Linked DNA regions of Homo sapiens: region 2 is linked to region 1. The links are contacts of gene promoters, found by promoter capture Hi-C in human tissues and cell types (Jung and others, 2019). All regions are on one chromosome and are shown on one strand. Each heading gives the region's core, a stretch centred on a gene start or on the middle of the fragment in contact. The rest is flanking DNA. Distances are from core to core; before and after follow the strand shown. Region 1 holds the start of ST8SIA2 (ST8 alpha-N-acetyl-neuraminide alpha-2,8-sialyltransferase 2). Region 2 has its middle 15 kb from the start of FAM174B.

Region 1 (6,447 bases), core at 1,698-4,197:
ATCCAAGGCAGGAAAAGAGACTTGCTTAAACAGAGGGGTAAGCAGGAGGGGAGGGGTCAGGGTGGCCAAGCCAAGCACATGCCCATGTGGCAGTTCACATCACCAGTCTGACATTCTCCACCAATCTCATCAGTCTTCCTCTTTCCAGATTCCAGGAACAAACTCATTTTTGCAGAGGCAGCAACGGGTGGTGTATGTACACAATCACTTGTTAAAGGAGCTGGCCCAACGAGACCCAAACCTAAGTGATCACAGATAGCAGGTATTCTATAGTCAACGATCACAAGGGTCCCCCATCACCCTCCAAGAAAAATCCCACTTCAGTGACTCTCATCGCAAGGACAGCGTCTATGTGAGGAAGCTAGCTCTACTTCCGAGCAGGTATACTTGAGAGATATTGCTCTGTGGGTCTGATTACAGGGATCTCTCTATATGGAATCGAACCATTCAACAAAAGCTTCCACTGTTTCCTGTCCACTCATATGACTCTGGTCTGGTGGGTGCAAAGAAGGAAGACTGAGCCTGGGATGAGAACATGGGCCACCTAACAGGAAACGGAAATAGATTCTGCTGTAATCGTGGGTCACCTAACAGGAAATGGAAATAGACTCTGTTGTAATTGTGCTTGCAGCAATGAGGTTGACCCGACCTGGTGAATTTAGTACCACGGCAACACTTCCATGATGTTCTGCATGGTAAGAGTGCAGTAGGTAGAGAAGCAGAGAAGCAGAGAACAGAGGAGAGAAAGGTCAGTTTCTTCTTGCTCTTTTGGGGGATCTTATTAATCAATTATAAGTGAGCCAGGAGACCTTAGGTCTACTGCAGCTCAAATCCCCTATCATAATTAGACACCTGAATGTCTGTCTCCCTTGTGAACAGTGAGCCACTAGAGGGCAGGAAACCCGAGGTGTCTCTCTCCACTTGGTGTCTCTAGCTCCTAGCACAGAGCCTGGTACAAGGTAGGTTAAATATTGCTGCACGTTGGAGTGAGTGGAGGAGCGATTCAAATACAGAGCAGCATACCAGGCGCATCCTGTACTTTCCTCTCCCTATTCAGGTATCCCAACCATTCCCTTCAGAAAAACAAGGCAAAATGATGACAAAAACCACTCCACACCTCCTAAACCACCCTTCAAGCAAGACAAAGGGAAAGATTTTGGCATTTTGAAAACTTGAAATAAGGATGGTTAGACCCCGTGCCAGCCACACTGATGGGAAACTCTCCTTTGACGTCTCATCCCTGCCTCTAACAGACAGGGAGAGTGACGTCCAACATTGTTCTCCACATCAGAAAAACCTCACCCCAAGAAAAATACATGGTATTTTCGAAGTGCTTACTGTAAAAGGAGCAGGGTGCGCTGACTTCGCCAAGGAATGGGAAGGAAATGAAGCGCTGAGGTGGGAATTAGTACACGCTTCCTCTGGGGAAAAGACATCTGCTCCTGGCACTCCTCAAAGGAGGTGAGGCAGAGCTCTCCCTTGACGCTGTGCTGCTTCCCTAATCCATTCTCCAGGCTGGGTGATGGGACCTCTTCCTGCAGGGGAGAGCCTGCCCTGGCTCCCAGGGTCAACAAGGGCAGCAGCCCCCGGCTTGGAAGCCTCCCTCCTGCCCCTCCTTACACACGAAGGGGCAGAAGGGCTCTGGGCACAAGCAGTACTTTGGTAGAAAATCAGAAGGCCCTCTTACATCCCCGGGGGCGCCATGAAGGGACTTGGCTGCTGCCAGCCCCTCGCCAAACTCCTCTGAGTGGTCCAGGGGATAAGGCCGACACGCCCCTCCCATTCACTGGGGTGTGGTTTCCAGCACTTAGGACATTCCATGTAGCTTCTCCAACAGGACTCCTCCTCCCCACACTCAAACCCAAAGGACCCTTTCATAAACCAGATGATCATTTCTGGAAAGTTACATTTCTTAATTTCAGGAATTGTTCCAATTCGTGCAAAGAAAATAAAAGGTAATTATCTAATTCCAGTAAAACTTAATGGGGCCCTTCCCACCCCTGGCCAATGGTTGGTGTGAAATGTAATTTGACTTAAACTGTCTAAGGCTGTGAAAGTGTACAATATTCGGAAGGGTGGGGGGCATTACCCCTTGTGGGAGCCATATTTTTCTAGAAGGCATTTTGATCAAGACAGGCCTCCCGCGGTTATTGATCTTAGGGTCATTGAGAGTCCAAGAACTGGGGAGATGAAGGCCACCCGGCGTCAGCACCGCGAGGGCGGAGGGAAGGCGGGCGCTGAGTCTCCCATTGGGGTTCTAGCCGAGGGTTCCAGCCAGGACTGCGTGATCTGGGGGCAGCTCGGAGAGCTCTCCCGACCCAGTATCGGGTCTATAAATGGAGATAAAGATCAGCACCTGGAGGGAGTGGTTTCTCGAGGGCTGAGAGCCTCGCCCACAAACTGTAGTCAGCATCTTCACTGAAGTTGGCCTGTCTTGGATATTTCTTCTCTCCTCCCCTTCCCCCACCTCCCCTCCTAATTCATCAACTGCTGAAACATCTGCCTGGCTGAAACCGCCTTCTCGCCGCGCGCTGGGGGCTGTCCCCAGGTGTTGGTCTTTGTGTCGAGAAAACTTTGCGAGGAGGCGAGGGAGCTGGACAAAGAGCGGGCGAGGGAGGGCGTTTGCCAGCCTGAGGGGTGCGCCGGGCGGTGCGCGCACTTCCCTGGGCTCAGCTCCGTACCCGGTCGCTCGCGGTGGCCAGAGCCCAGTCTCTCTAGGCCAGGAGTGGCGTCCGGCTGCATCCCCGCGCCCTCGGGAGCTGAATAAAGCCAGGCGGGAGAAGCAAAGGCTAGCGCCTGGACGCTGGAGTTGGTGGGAGGAGGCGAGCAGAGGCGCGGAGCAAAGCTGTCAAACTGCGCGCGGAGCCGGGCGCGGGGCGGGGGAAGGGAGAGGAGGGAGGGAGGGGCAGGCGGGAGCCGGGAGGGAGCGAGCGGGCTCGCCGCGCCTGAGCAACCCCTGCCTGTCGCTGCCGCTGCCGCTGCCGCTGCCGCCGCCGGCCCGGACTCGTCCGGAGCGCAGGGTGTCTGCCCAGCTGCGCGCGGCGCGCGGAGGCTCCGGCGTCCGCCGCTGCGCCCTCCGGCCCCTGCTCCTCGCGCCGGCCCGCGTGGGTCCCGGCGGGCGCGAACCCACCATGCAGCTGCAGTTCCGGAGCTGGATGCTGGCCGCGCTCACGCTGCTCGTGGTCTTCCTCATCTTCGCAGACATCTCAGAGATCGAAGAAGAAATCGGGTAAATAGCTGCTCCCAGGCCCGTGCCACGAGCCCTGGCGGGATCTCTCCCTCCTTCTGTACTCTCCACCCTCCGACCCCCTTTGTGTGCGCCGCGCCCCGCTGTAGCTCCGCTGGAGAGATGGGGACGGTTTGGCAGAAGGTGGCGGCGACAGGGGCCCGGGACGGTTTGGGGAGAGGAGGGTGGGGGCGCGGCTGCTGTGGGGTGTCCCCGGGCGGGGTTCACGGGAAGCCCCCAGCTGGCCCGCGTCGGGAAGCGGACTCGCCCACCCTGCCCCCCTGCCTGGCGTGTCCAAGCGCAGTGTCGCCGGGGTCGAGGGAGGGCGCCGGGGAGTGTCTCGGGCGGGCGGAGGGGCCGAGAGTGGAGGGAGGCAGGAGTTTCTTTGTCTCCAGCACGGCCGCTTTCTCGCCTTGGCAAAGTGGGCAGGGGGCGCGCAGGGATCTCTGAGCTGGGGGAGGGGTTCCTGGGGCCGGAGCGGAGGGCGGGGTTCTGCATGGGCTACTGGGAAGCGGAATGTCCCCTGCACACACAGACAGGCACACGCGCCTCCCGCCGGCCCGGGAGCCCGGCGTAGGAGCTGGCACCACTAGAGAAGGGCTCGCATAGCTGGACTGAGACCCCCCGCCCTCGCCTGGCTTTGGACGTTCAGCCAAGCCACGGCAACCCCGGCGACCCTGGGTTCCTGTGCGCTCGCAGCGCGGAGACGGAGACATTTCGGGAAAGTCTGTACCGCCGCCCGGTGGGCTTCTGGGCCCTCAGGCGGGCGATCTGGCGCTTTTTTTCTCCCGACCTCGCCAGAGGTAGGGTGGGACCGCGAGCCCGGATCCTCCCGGCTCCGGACTTCCTGGAGTGCGCACTTGAGGCGCGGGACGCACCGGCTGTGTGTCCCAGGGGCTGAGACTCGCGCCCCGCCCCGCAGCCTTCGGCTCGCCGGGCCGGGCCCCTCTCCGGAACCTCCAAAGGGCGGTAGACGACAGGTGGGGAGGCAGCCGGGGTTCTGAGGAGGCCCGAGGAGAGCTTCCTGGCCCTGGGCAAGGGGAAGGTGAGGTCTCAAAGAGGGCAGAAGGTCTCTTCTTCTGTGGGATTTGTGCTCTGCCAGGCGCTCTTCTCGAGTCCCGCGCCGCGTGCGCCCCTCCTTTGTCCCATTTGTTACTTCATTTGTTATCTGTGCTAGTTGAGGGTCCGCCACACTGTCAGTCCCTCAAATGGGAGATGCCAGTCCTGGGCCCAGGCGGGATGCCGAGGCCCCAAGGACAAAAACTTGTGACAAGTGCCGCTTCCTGCTCTCATTTTCTCCCTGCCCCTGCCCATCTCCCTGGAATTCCTTCTGTGAACTCCGCTGGGCTTCCAGAACCCCTCTCCCTGCCTCTTTCTCCTCTCATTCTCGGTTTCCCCAAGAGCTCTGAAAACTTTCACAAATGCTGCGCAGTTAATACACAACGTGCCACCAATTCCCACGCAGAGATAAACATGCTACTTTTCATAGCTGCTCGCCTCAGAAACGTGGATTGGAAAGGAAATCGGGCAAGTCACGTCTTGGGGTAATGGAAGATGCGGTGAGGAGGGCCTTCCTCTAGGCTCTCCGGCTTCTGATTCCGGATGTGGGCACTGCCCGGCTCAGATCACTTGCTGACCTTTGCCCATGTGAGAGGGAAGGCCCGGCGCTGCCCATTGTCCTGTTATAAAAACATAAGTGCTGTGCTTATCCAGGCACCCCTAGGTCAGCCATTCACTGAATTCTTACCAAATACCTTCCACATGCTGGGAACTTTTAATTTTTAAAATGCAATCAGGAGATCACTTTGCACATAATGTTGCACTTTCTTGCCAAATGCACGGTGAAGCCTACGCTCCCCACATCAGGTTGTTCCCATATATGTACGCACCCCGGGGACTTGTCTCACTTGAGTGCTCCCTGCTTCTTTTTATCCTGTCTCTGCTGGGCCAATCCTAGGAAAAAACGGTCAAACAAGTACGATGTGTCACCTCCTGTGGCATCTTCCTTCCCTCTCTTGCCTCTCGTCCCAGGCTGACCACTGGCTTGACCAGTCCTGACCAGGCCTAAGACACCCTCTCTCCCAGGCTGATGTAGCTGCCTTAGGTCAACACTGCATATGCCTTTCGACTGGGATGGGCACTCTTGCCCCACCCACGGTCAGCCCCACACATGTTTAATCCAGAGGAATGGAGGCATATTTTGGGATTCACCATGGCTGGAGGAGTAAACACATGGGCAGAGCATGGGAATCCCAACAGCACCTTCTGTCTGCTTACAAGTGAGGGGTTTCTTTTTGTTTGTTTGTTTTTGTTTTTTTTTTTGTCTTTTCTTTTTTTCTTTTTCTTTTTTTTGAGACGGAGTCTCATTCTGTCGCCCAGGATGGAGTGCAGTGGCACAATCTCGGCTCACTGCAACCTCCGCCTCCCGGGTTCAAGCAATTCTCCTGTTTCAGCCTCCCGAGTAGCTGGGATTACAGGCACCTGCCACCACACCAGGCTAATTTTTGTATTTTTATTAGAGACGGGGTTTCACCATGTTGGCCAGGCTGGTCTCAATCACCTCAGGGGATCTGCCCACCTCAGCCTCCCAAAGTGCTGGGATTACAGGCGTGAGCCACCCCTCCCGGCACAAGTGAGGTTTTAACACTAAATTCATTCTTGGAATTACCCCAACTTTGGGCAGCTGGGCTCAGTGCCCAATAAGAGCCTTGGCACAGTGGCCAGTGAGGGGCGTCAAGAGGGCTCCGCCTTCCTCACCATATGCCTTCCTGGAGACCTCGAATCATACTCAGGCACAAGAGGCTTTTGCACCAGCCCTGCCCCTCCATCCCCAACTCACTCCGGACCTGTGCTAGGGAGGATTACAGATGATCTGCGCGTGTCGGCCCCTGGGAGAAAGCGATGGCTCTGTAAAAGGATGGCTGTTTCTGGAAAGTAATGAACAGTGGGACCCTGTGATCTGTTGGAAGGAAGGAAAGATAGAAGGAACCTCTTTTGGGGGTAACTTTTTCAAGGATTAAGGAATTTTAAAAAGTGAAAGAAGAAAGTGAATTACATGTGTATTATCTGGAGGGATAAAACTGAGATTTACTTTTCTGAAGCTTTTGATTCTCTTTTTTTTATAAAATGAGGCTTTTAATGTGGTGGTCTCAGAGGTCCTGTCCTGCCTGAAAAGTTATACATCATGAATTGAGGGGCAGGGCTTTCTTTGAGGGGAGTTT
Region 2 (6,447 bases), core at 1,230-3,729, 280 kb after region 1:
GGACCCCACCTTTGAGCTCAGGTGGACCATCTGTCCACAGTTCCTTTCACAGTGCAGTACTTTTCCCATACACATCAAAGTTGCTTTGGATCGAGAGGCGAAGACCAGCAGGGCAGAGCTAAGCAGGCCACAGACATCTTTCCCCAGAAAAGCTGAGGGTGAGAGGCAGGGCGGTTCACCCTCCGGATGGCTGTTTGTAAAGTAAATATTGATTTTGAGCCATCCCCCAACCTGCTCAGGAAAACACACCAGCTGTTGCTTCTGCCTGCAGCTCCAAGTGGCAGTCACTCCCATGTCCAGAAACATCCTCTCCATACCTGTCCCCACTGCAATTCCCACAGCTGGCATCGTCAGCCTCTCCGTGACAGTGGAGTTAGACCTCACGTTTGCAGGAATTTGTGTTTTAATTCCCAGGCAGAGCTCGGGCCTCTGAGGGTTAGGGACACAGAAAAGGTCAGTTTGGGGATGGCCCCGGGTGGATGGCTGTTTCTCCTGTTCCCCACAGTGTGGAGCCCAAACCTTCACCCCTGTGTTGATGCATCCTAGACCCACTTTGGACATTTCCACCTCACAAGTAACGTTGGCAGCCACTTCCCGAGAGGCGCTGCTCTGCGTTCCTGACCATTTTTTTCTCACTCCTCTCCAGCCTCAGGGATACACCCTCCTGTTTGAGACCAGCCCCCACACGTTGGCCCTGAGTTCAACCCTCCTCCACCTCCTCTGAGGCTCTGCTTCACGCATTACCTCTGCTTCCTCCTGTATCTTCACCCTCCAGTAGATATTTCCCATTCTGGTTTCTCACTGAGAAAGAAAAGAAAAGAGAAACCAAGAGGGAGAGAGGGAGAGAGAAAGAGAGAGAGAGGGGAAGAGGAGAGGGGAAGGAAGGAAGGAAGGAAGGAAGGGAGGGAGGGAGGGAGGGAGGGAGGGGGAACGGGAGGGGGAATGGGAGGGAGGGAGGGGGAGCGGGAGGGGAGAGCCTACAACTTTGTGTGTCTCCCTTTTGCCCTCCCTGAACCTCTAAGTGGCATTTGATGATGCCAGGGCTTCCTGCCTTGGAGGTCTCCAGTTTTCTATCTTCCCTCTGACCTCTCTGTCCCCTCTCTCGGGAGCTGGCTCCTCTCCCTTTTAACTCAGTCCCCAGGGCTTCCTGCTGAGTTCTTTTCTCACTCTGGCCCCTCTCCCTGGGTTCTCAGGTACCCAGCATGTCCCACACAAGATTCTTCATCGTTCCCCAAAACCTGCCCTACCTCCAGAGCTCCTACGCTCTGCTGGCCACCACACTGCACTTGGCGGAGGCAGGAACCTAGGGGTCCCCCTACAATCCCCCCATTACTAAGTCCTTCCTCTTCTCTCCAGAAACAGTCCAAATCCAACCACGAGTAAGTTAGTGTAACTTGTTTGTTTATACGTCTCTCAAAACACACACACACACACACACACACGTAATGTCCATCAAATCAGGAGTTGTGTCTGTTTTGTTCATTGGCTATTTCTTCATCAACCAGAAATGTATCTGGCACACAGTAAGTGCTCAATAAATGTTGCTGGACTGAATGGATAAGTACCTACTGCCGTAGTTTATAGCAAGCAACAGGAGTTGAGTGCACGTATTTAAAGTCAGAAGGCAAGAGCTGGAATCTTGGCTTTGCCATTTACTCTCAGTGTAACTTGCACTAAATTAAACCTTAAGTCTCAATTTCCTCACCTGTAATATGGGCATAAAGATAGCAGCTCACTTATCATTAGGATTAAATGAGATAGCACATGTAGAGAACTTAGCATAATAACTGGTACGTATTAAGTCATCAATAAACATTACATATTATGTTTCTTATTGTTGTTCTTTCCTGTCCTCATGTGTCACCTGTATTATAACATCCTTCCAACCGTTCTCCAAGACTCCAGGCTCCTCTCTTCAGGAGAATTCCCACCCTAACATCGTAATCAGAGTGATCTGTCCAAATGCAAAATCAAGCATAATACTCCCTTGCTGAAAACCCTTATGGGGTTTAAACTCTGCCAGTAGAGTCCTAATTCCTTAGTATGGGCCCAGCTTCCCCACCCCCACCTCCCAGCACCCCAAACTCTAAATTCACTAAACTCCTAGCTTCATCTACCCTTACCTCCCAGCACCCCAAACTCTAAATTCACTAAACTCCTAGCTTCATCTACCCTTACCTCCCAGCACCCCAAACTCTAAATTCACTAAACTCCTAGCTTCATCTAACCCTTACCTCCCAGCACCCCAAACTCTTAACTTTACTAAACTCCTTCCATCCGAGCCTTTGCCTAAACTGCTCCCTGGTTCTTCCACCAGGAATGCTCTTCCTTAACCCTCTCCTCTCCATTTTTTGCTTAAAGAACTCCTCCTAATCATTCTACAAACAAGACATAAGCTCCTTTGTGAAGATTTTGCTAATCTCTTCTGCACAATCCCCCACCACCCCATACAAATTCACCCCTGCCCACACACATTCCTCTAGGACAGTTAAGGTGGACCAGCTGTCCCAGTCCAGGCAGGAATGAAGAAGTTGCCCAGAATGTGAGACTTTCAGTGCTAAAACTAGGAGAGTCCGGGGCAAACAAGGGCAACTCTAATAGCACAGATCACATTGTTTTGGAGTTAGCTGTCTTTCTGATAAGATTGGAGGCAGCAGAAAGCTTACTTTGATCATCTTCGTGTCCCCAACACCTATCCTGGTGTCAGGCACTTATATAGCCCATACTCAATAAATAGGTGCTGAACGCATTATTGAGGTAGTGTGGAGGCAGTGGAGGAACTAAAGGCCGTGGTTCGGATCCCATCCCCTCGCTGTATGACCTTAGGCAAGTTATTATTTTCATTTGTATATTTGTTTGTTACTGAATGATTGAAGGCAAATTTCTTGGTCTCGGCCTCTGTTTCCTCATTTGTAAAATGGACATAATACCAATTTCGTAAGAATGTTGTAAAGATTAAATGCATGTAGGGGCTGGGCGCGGTGGCTCACGCCTGTAATCCCAGCACTTTGGGAGGCCGAGGCGGGCAGATCACGAGGTCAGGAGATCGAGACCATCCTGGCTAACACGGTGAAACCCCGTCTCTACTAAAAATACAAAAAATTAGCCGGGCATGGTGGCGGGCGCCTGTAGTCCCAGCTACTCGAGAGGCTGAGGCAGGAGAATGGCGTGAACCCGGGAGGCGGAGCTTGCAGTGAGCCGAGATCGCGCCACCGCACTCCAGCCTGGACAACAGAGGGAGACTCCATCTCAAAAAAAAAAAAAAAAAGCATATGAAGTGCTTAACACAATGCCAGGCATATAACAAGCTTTCAATAAATGTTAGCTGCTATTTATATTCACTTTTTTTAAAGAGTTAGCACAGTGCATTCAATAAGGGTTTGTTCCCTTCTCCCCATTAAACAAATTAATACAGGTGGCCTTAAATGTAATTATACCACAGAGAAGGCTTCCCTTAGGACAGGGATCAGCCACCTTGGTTGCACATTAGAATCCCCTGGAGGACCTTACAAACACTGATGCTCAACTCCAGGCCAATTAATTCAAATCTTTGATGGATCCATGCATCAGCACGTTTAAAGGGCTCCCCTGAGGAGTCTAATAGGCAGCCAGTTGAGAACTTCTGCCTTAGGGCACTGGGTTGTGGCTCTTTACCTCTTAATTGCTGTACTGGGTCTTTCCAAAGTTATCCCTACTCTAGCTATTGTCAACCGCAAGTGTTTAATACCCTCTGTTCCCTTCACTTTGTCTTCAGGGCAGGAACTGGAGAATTCTCAGCTCCCTAACCATTCCTGGCCTGTCCCCAAGTTCCTAACAGCTTTTCACAGCTTGCCTATCCCTTCAGAGCCTTCACAGCTTGATATTCCCCCAGGAAGTTGAAGAAATGAAAAAGAGGTCACTTCATCTGTGTCTTCCTTAAGGGGACAGATGGTTCCATTTTCTAGCCAGTGTTTCTCAAACTGGAGTCCACAGACATGTTCTCAGGGACCCGCCAGTTCTGTATGAGGATTTTTTTTCTTTGCATTTTCAATTTGCTAATAATCTAAAAATATTACTATTGTCATTAACTGGTTGCCCCTTTATAAAAGACTGCAAGATTTGAGTGCCCCTACAAAATTCGGTATTTGAGGGGTTTTCATTTGTTTGCTTTGTGAGACAGGGCTCTCACTGTCACTCAGGCTGAAGTGCGGTGTTATGATCATAGCTCACTGCAGCCTCGAACTCCCAGACTCAAGCCATCCTCCCTCCTCAGCCTCCTGAGTAGCTAGAACTACAGGCGTGAGCCACCACACCTAGCTGATCTTTGAGTTGTGTAAAGGCAATGCACACATACAGATTTCGAATTAGTTCAGATAGAAGGACCAAGCAGGGAACCAAATCCTCCCATGGCACAAAGCAATTGAAGCAAAACAGACTCCAAATGACCAGCAAGTAGTTGTTAGTCTCAAATTAGCTGCAGAAACAGATGCAGTTTGTGCATCCTGTCAAAACGTAAGTGTTTGCAGCAGTTCATTAGCAGTGAGTAGTAAATATACATTTACTAAGATATTTTCTTCTCCCATTCCAAAAAAAATGGGAAGAGAAACCCCAGTTGAGGTAGATTTTAATAAAGCTATAATGCTAATTATATCCTTAAGTGAATGTGAGCCATGTACACATTTATCAAGGGCCATATAGTGCCTGATTGTCCAGCAGTAGCAAATACAGCCTTGACGTTAAATACCATGTGTGCCTCATTCTAATAAGAGACAGTCTTTGCATGGATATTATTAAAGTCAAAATACAGCAATAGATATAAAACTAGACCCAAGGCTGCATCTTTTCATTATTAAGCCAACAATAGGCATTTATTTTTAGTACAGCTCATCATAAGTCCCATCAAAATAATGTCGTTTAGATGTGCCTATGTACTCTCTTCTGCTTTCAATTTGTAAATTTGTTTTTGGTTTTATAGGTGCATAAGAGCTTGAAGCATAAACAGTTTATGCCTAGTTTTATTTTACACCTAATTAAGAGATGGTAAAAAATAACTCTATTGTAGCTGTCAATCCTCAATGATCTTTTCCCTGGTGGTCTGGAACACTCGTGCTGGCTACAGATCAGAATCAGACAGAGATTGTCAGACACACAGGCTGCCAGAGGTTGGAGACTCGGGGCTAGAGGACAGGACACTTCCCCGGGCTCCGGATCTGCTTTGTCACTAAGGGCAGAGGCTATTTGGTGATTTATGGACATGGGTTCTTGGTCCTGTCATTTCACCATCTGCCCTCCCCTCCCGCTCCCACTTCCACCTCCCCTGGGCCTCAGTTTCCTCGATTCCCTGAGGTCTGTAGTCCTATCTGTCCCTAATTTTCAGTGGTTCTGTGATTCTTGCCTTCAGTGCGTTATCAGCTGAAGGTAGAGGATAAAGCACCCGCAGGGCTTGGGGTCAGACCTGGCTGAGAATTCTGACCCAGGCACTGCCCCACCTGGGACATTTAAACTTGATGAGCCTTGGGCTCCTTGCTGTAAAATGGAGAGGATAACGCTGTCGCCACTAGATGCTGCACAGATTAAACGAGATCAGAAATGTCTGGTAGGCACAGCCACTGCTCCCTGCCCGACTGGGCATTCAGTGCATGTTCGATACTGCCTTTAAAGTTCCTGTTTGTCTTCAGGAGGGGTTCCTGGGCCTAACTGAAAAGAAGAATTTGTTTTTGTTGTTTTTAAAGCTCAGCCCATAACCTCCTTTCAACCAAACAAGGTCTTCCTGAAACTTCTCTAGATTTCTGAATGTTTAGCTTCAGGATGCACCAAGGAGATGGGAGAAGCTCCCTGAGGGGCCTAGGCTGAAGCCAGGGGGTGATGGGTCCCAAGGACTGCCCTGAGACAAGCCCCTTTCAGGGACCAGAGGAGAAAGAATCATACTCGCTCCATTCCAGGACAAGTGAAAAGGAGGCATGTGTTTCCTGTGCACTTTTCAGCTAGCTGTAATGAAGCAAGCTCATTTTATATTTGATTTTAACAAAGAGAGAATGACTGATGGCTTCAAACACACACATCTGCCATGCCTGTTTACCCACATGAAATTAATCAGAGGACTTCAGGGCTGATGCTGGAAACATGGGTGAGGAGGGCAGGGTTCGCTTGCCCCCACCCCCACCTAAGGTCAGCTTTGGAGTTCGGGAAAAGCTCTTAGCTCCAACTTTCTCAATGAAGAGAGGCTTCTCACACTGCAGAGAGACAGGGAGGCTCCCGCAGCCCTAAGCCTAGGACCCCCAGAACTCTCTGAGCCCAGGTTCCCAACACCTGGTGGGTAGGTAGGAGGAAGCTTTCCATTCAGCCAAGATTCACAGAACCCCACACTGTGAGCCCTCCTCCCTGGCAGAGGTAGAGTTACCGCTGCCTGGACCCCTGAGGGCACAGGGAACCCAAGGGTTCTGAGACACTGGGTTTCATCGTCCTCAC

What was found. The method cuts DNA at HindIII sites, captures the fragments that hold promoters and counts their contacts. A contact is called where the count stands out against the background at its distance.
Region 2: a fragment that was not itself captured here is called in contact with the fragment with the promoter of ST8SIA2 in region 1 in 2 of the 25 tissues and cell types used here (heart left ventricle and neural progenitor cells).

The regions. Positions count from the first base shown.
Region 1 is chr15:92,390,934-92,397,380 of GRCh38, forward strand. ST8SIA2 (ST8 alpha-N-acetyl-neuraminide alpha-2,8-sialyltransferase 2) reads left to right here and starts at 2,948. Exons shown (of 6, transcript NM_006011.4): 1 at 2,948-3,229. The coding sequence starts at 3,132. The HindIII fragment of the contact is 17,571 bases long and covers 1-6,447 here.
Region 2 is chr15:92,667,154-92,673,600 of GRCh38, forward strand. No RefSeq gene overlaps it. Among named protein-coding and RNA genes, the nearest start is that of FAM174B, 15 kb to the left of the region's middle. The HindIII fragment of the contact is 4,660 bases long and covers 150-4,809 here.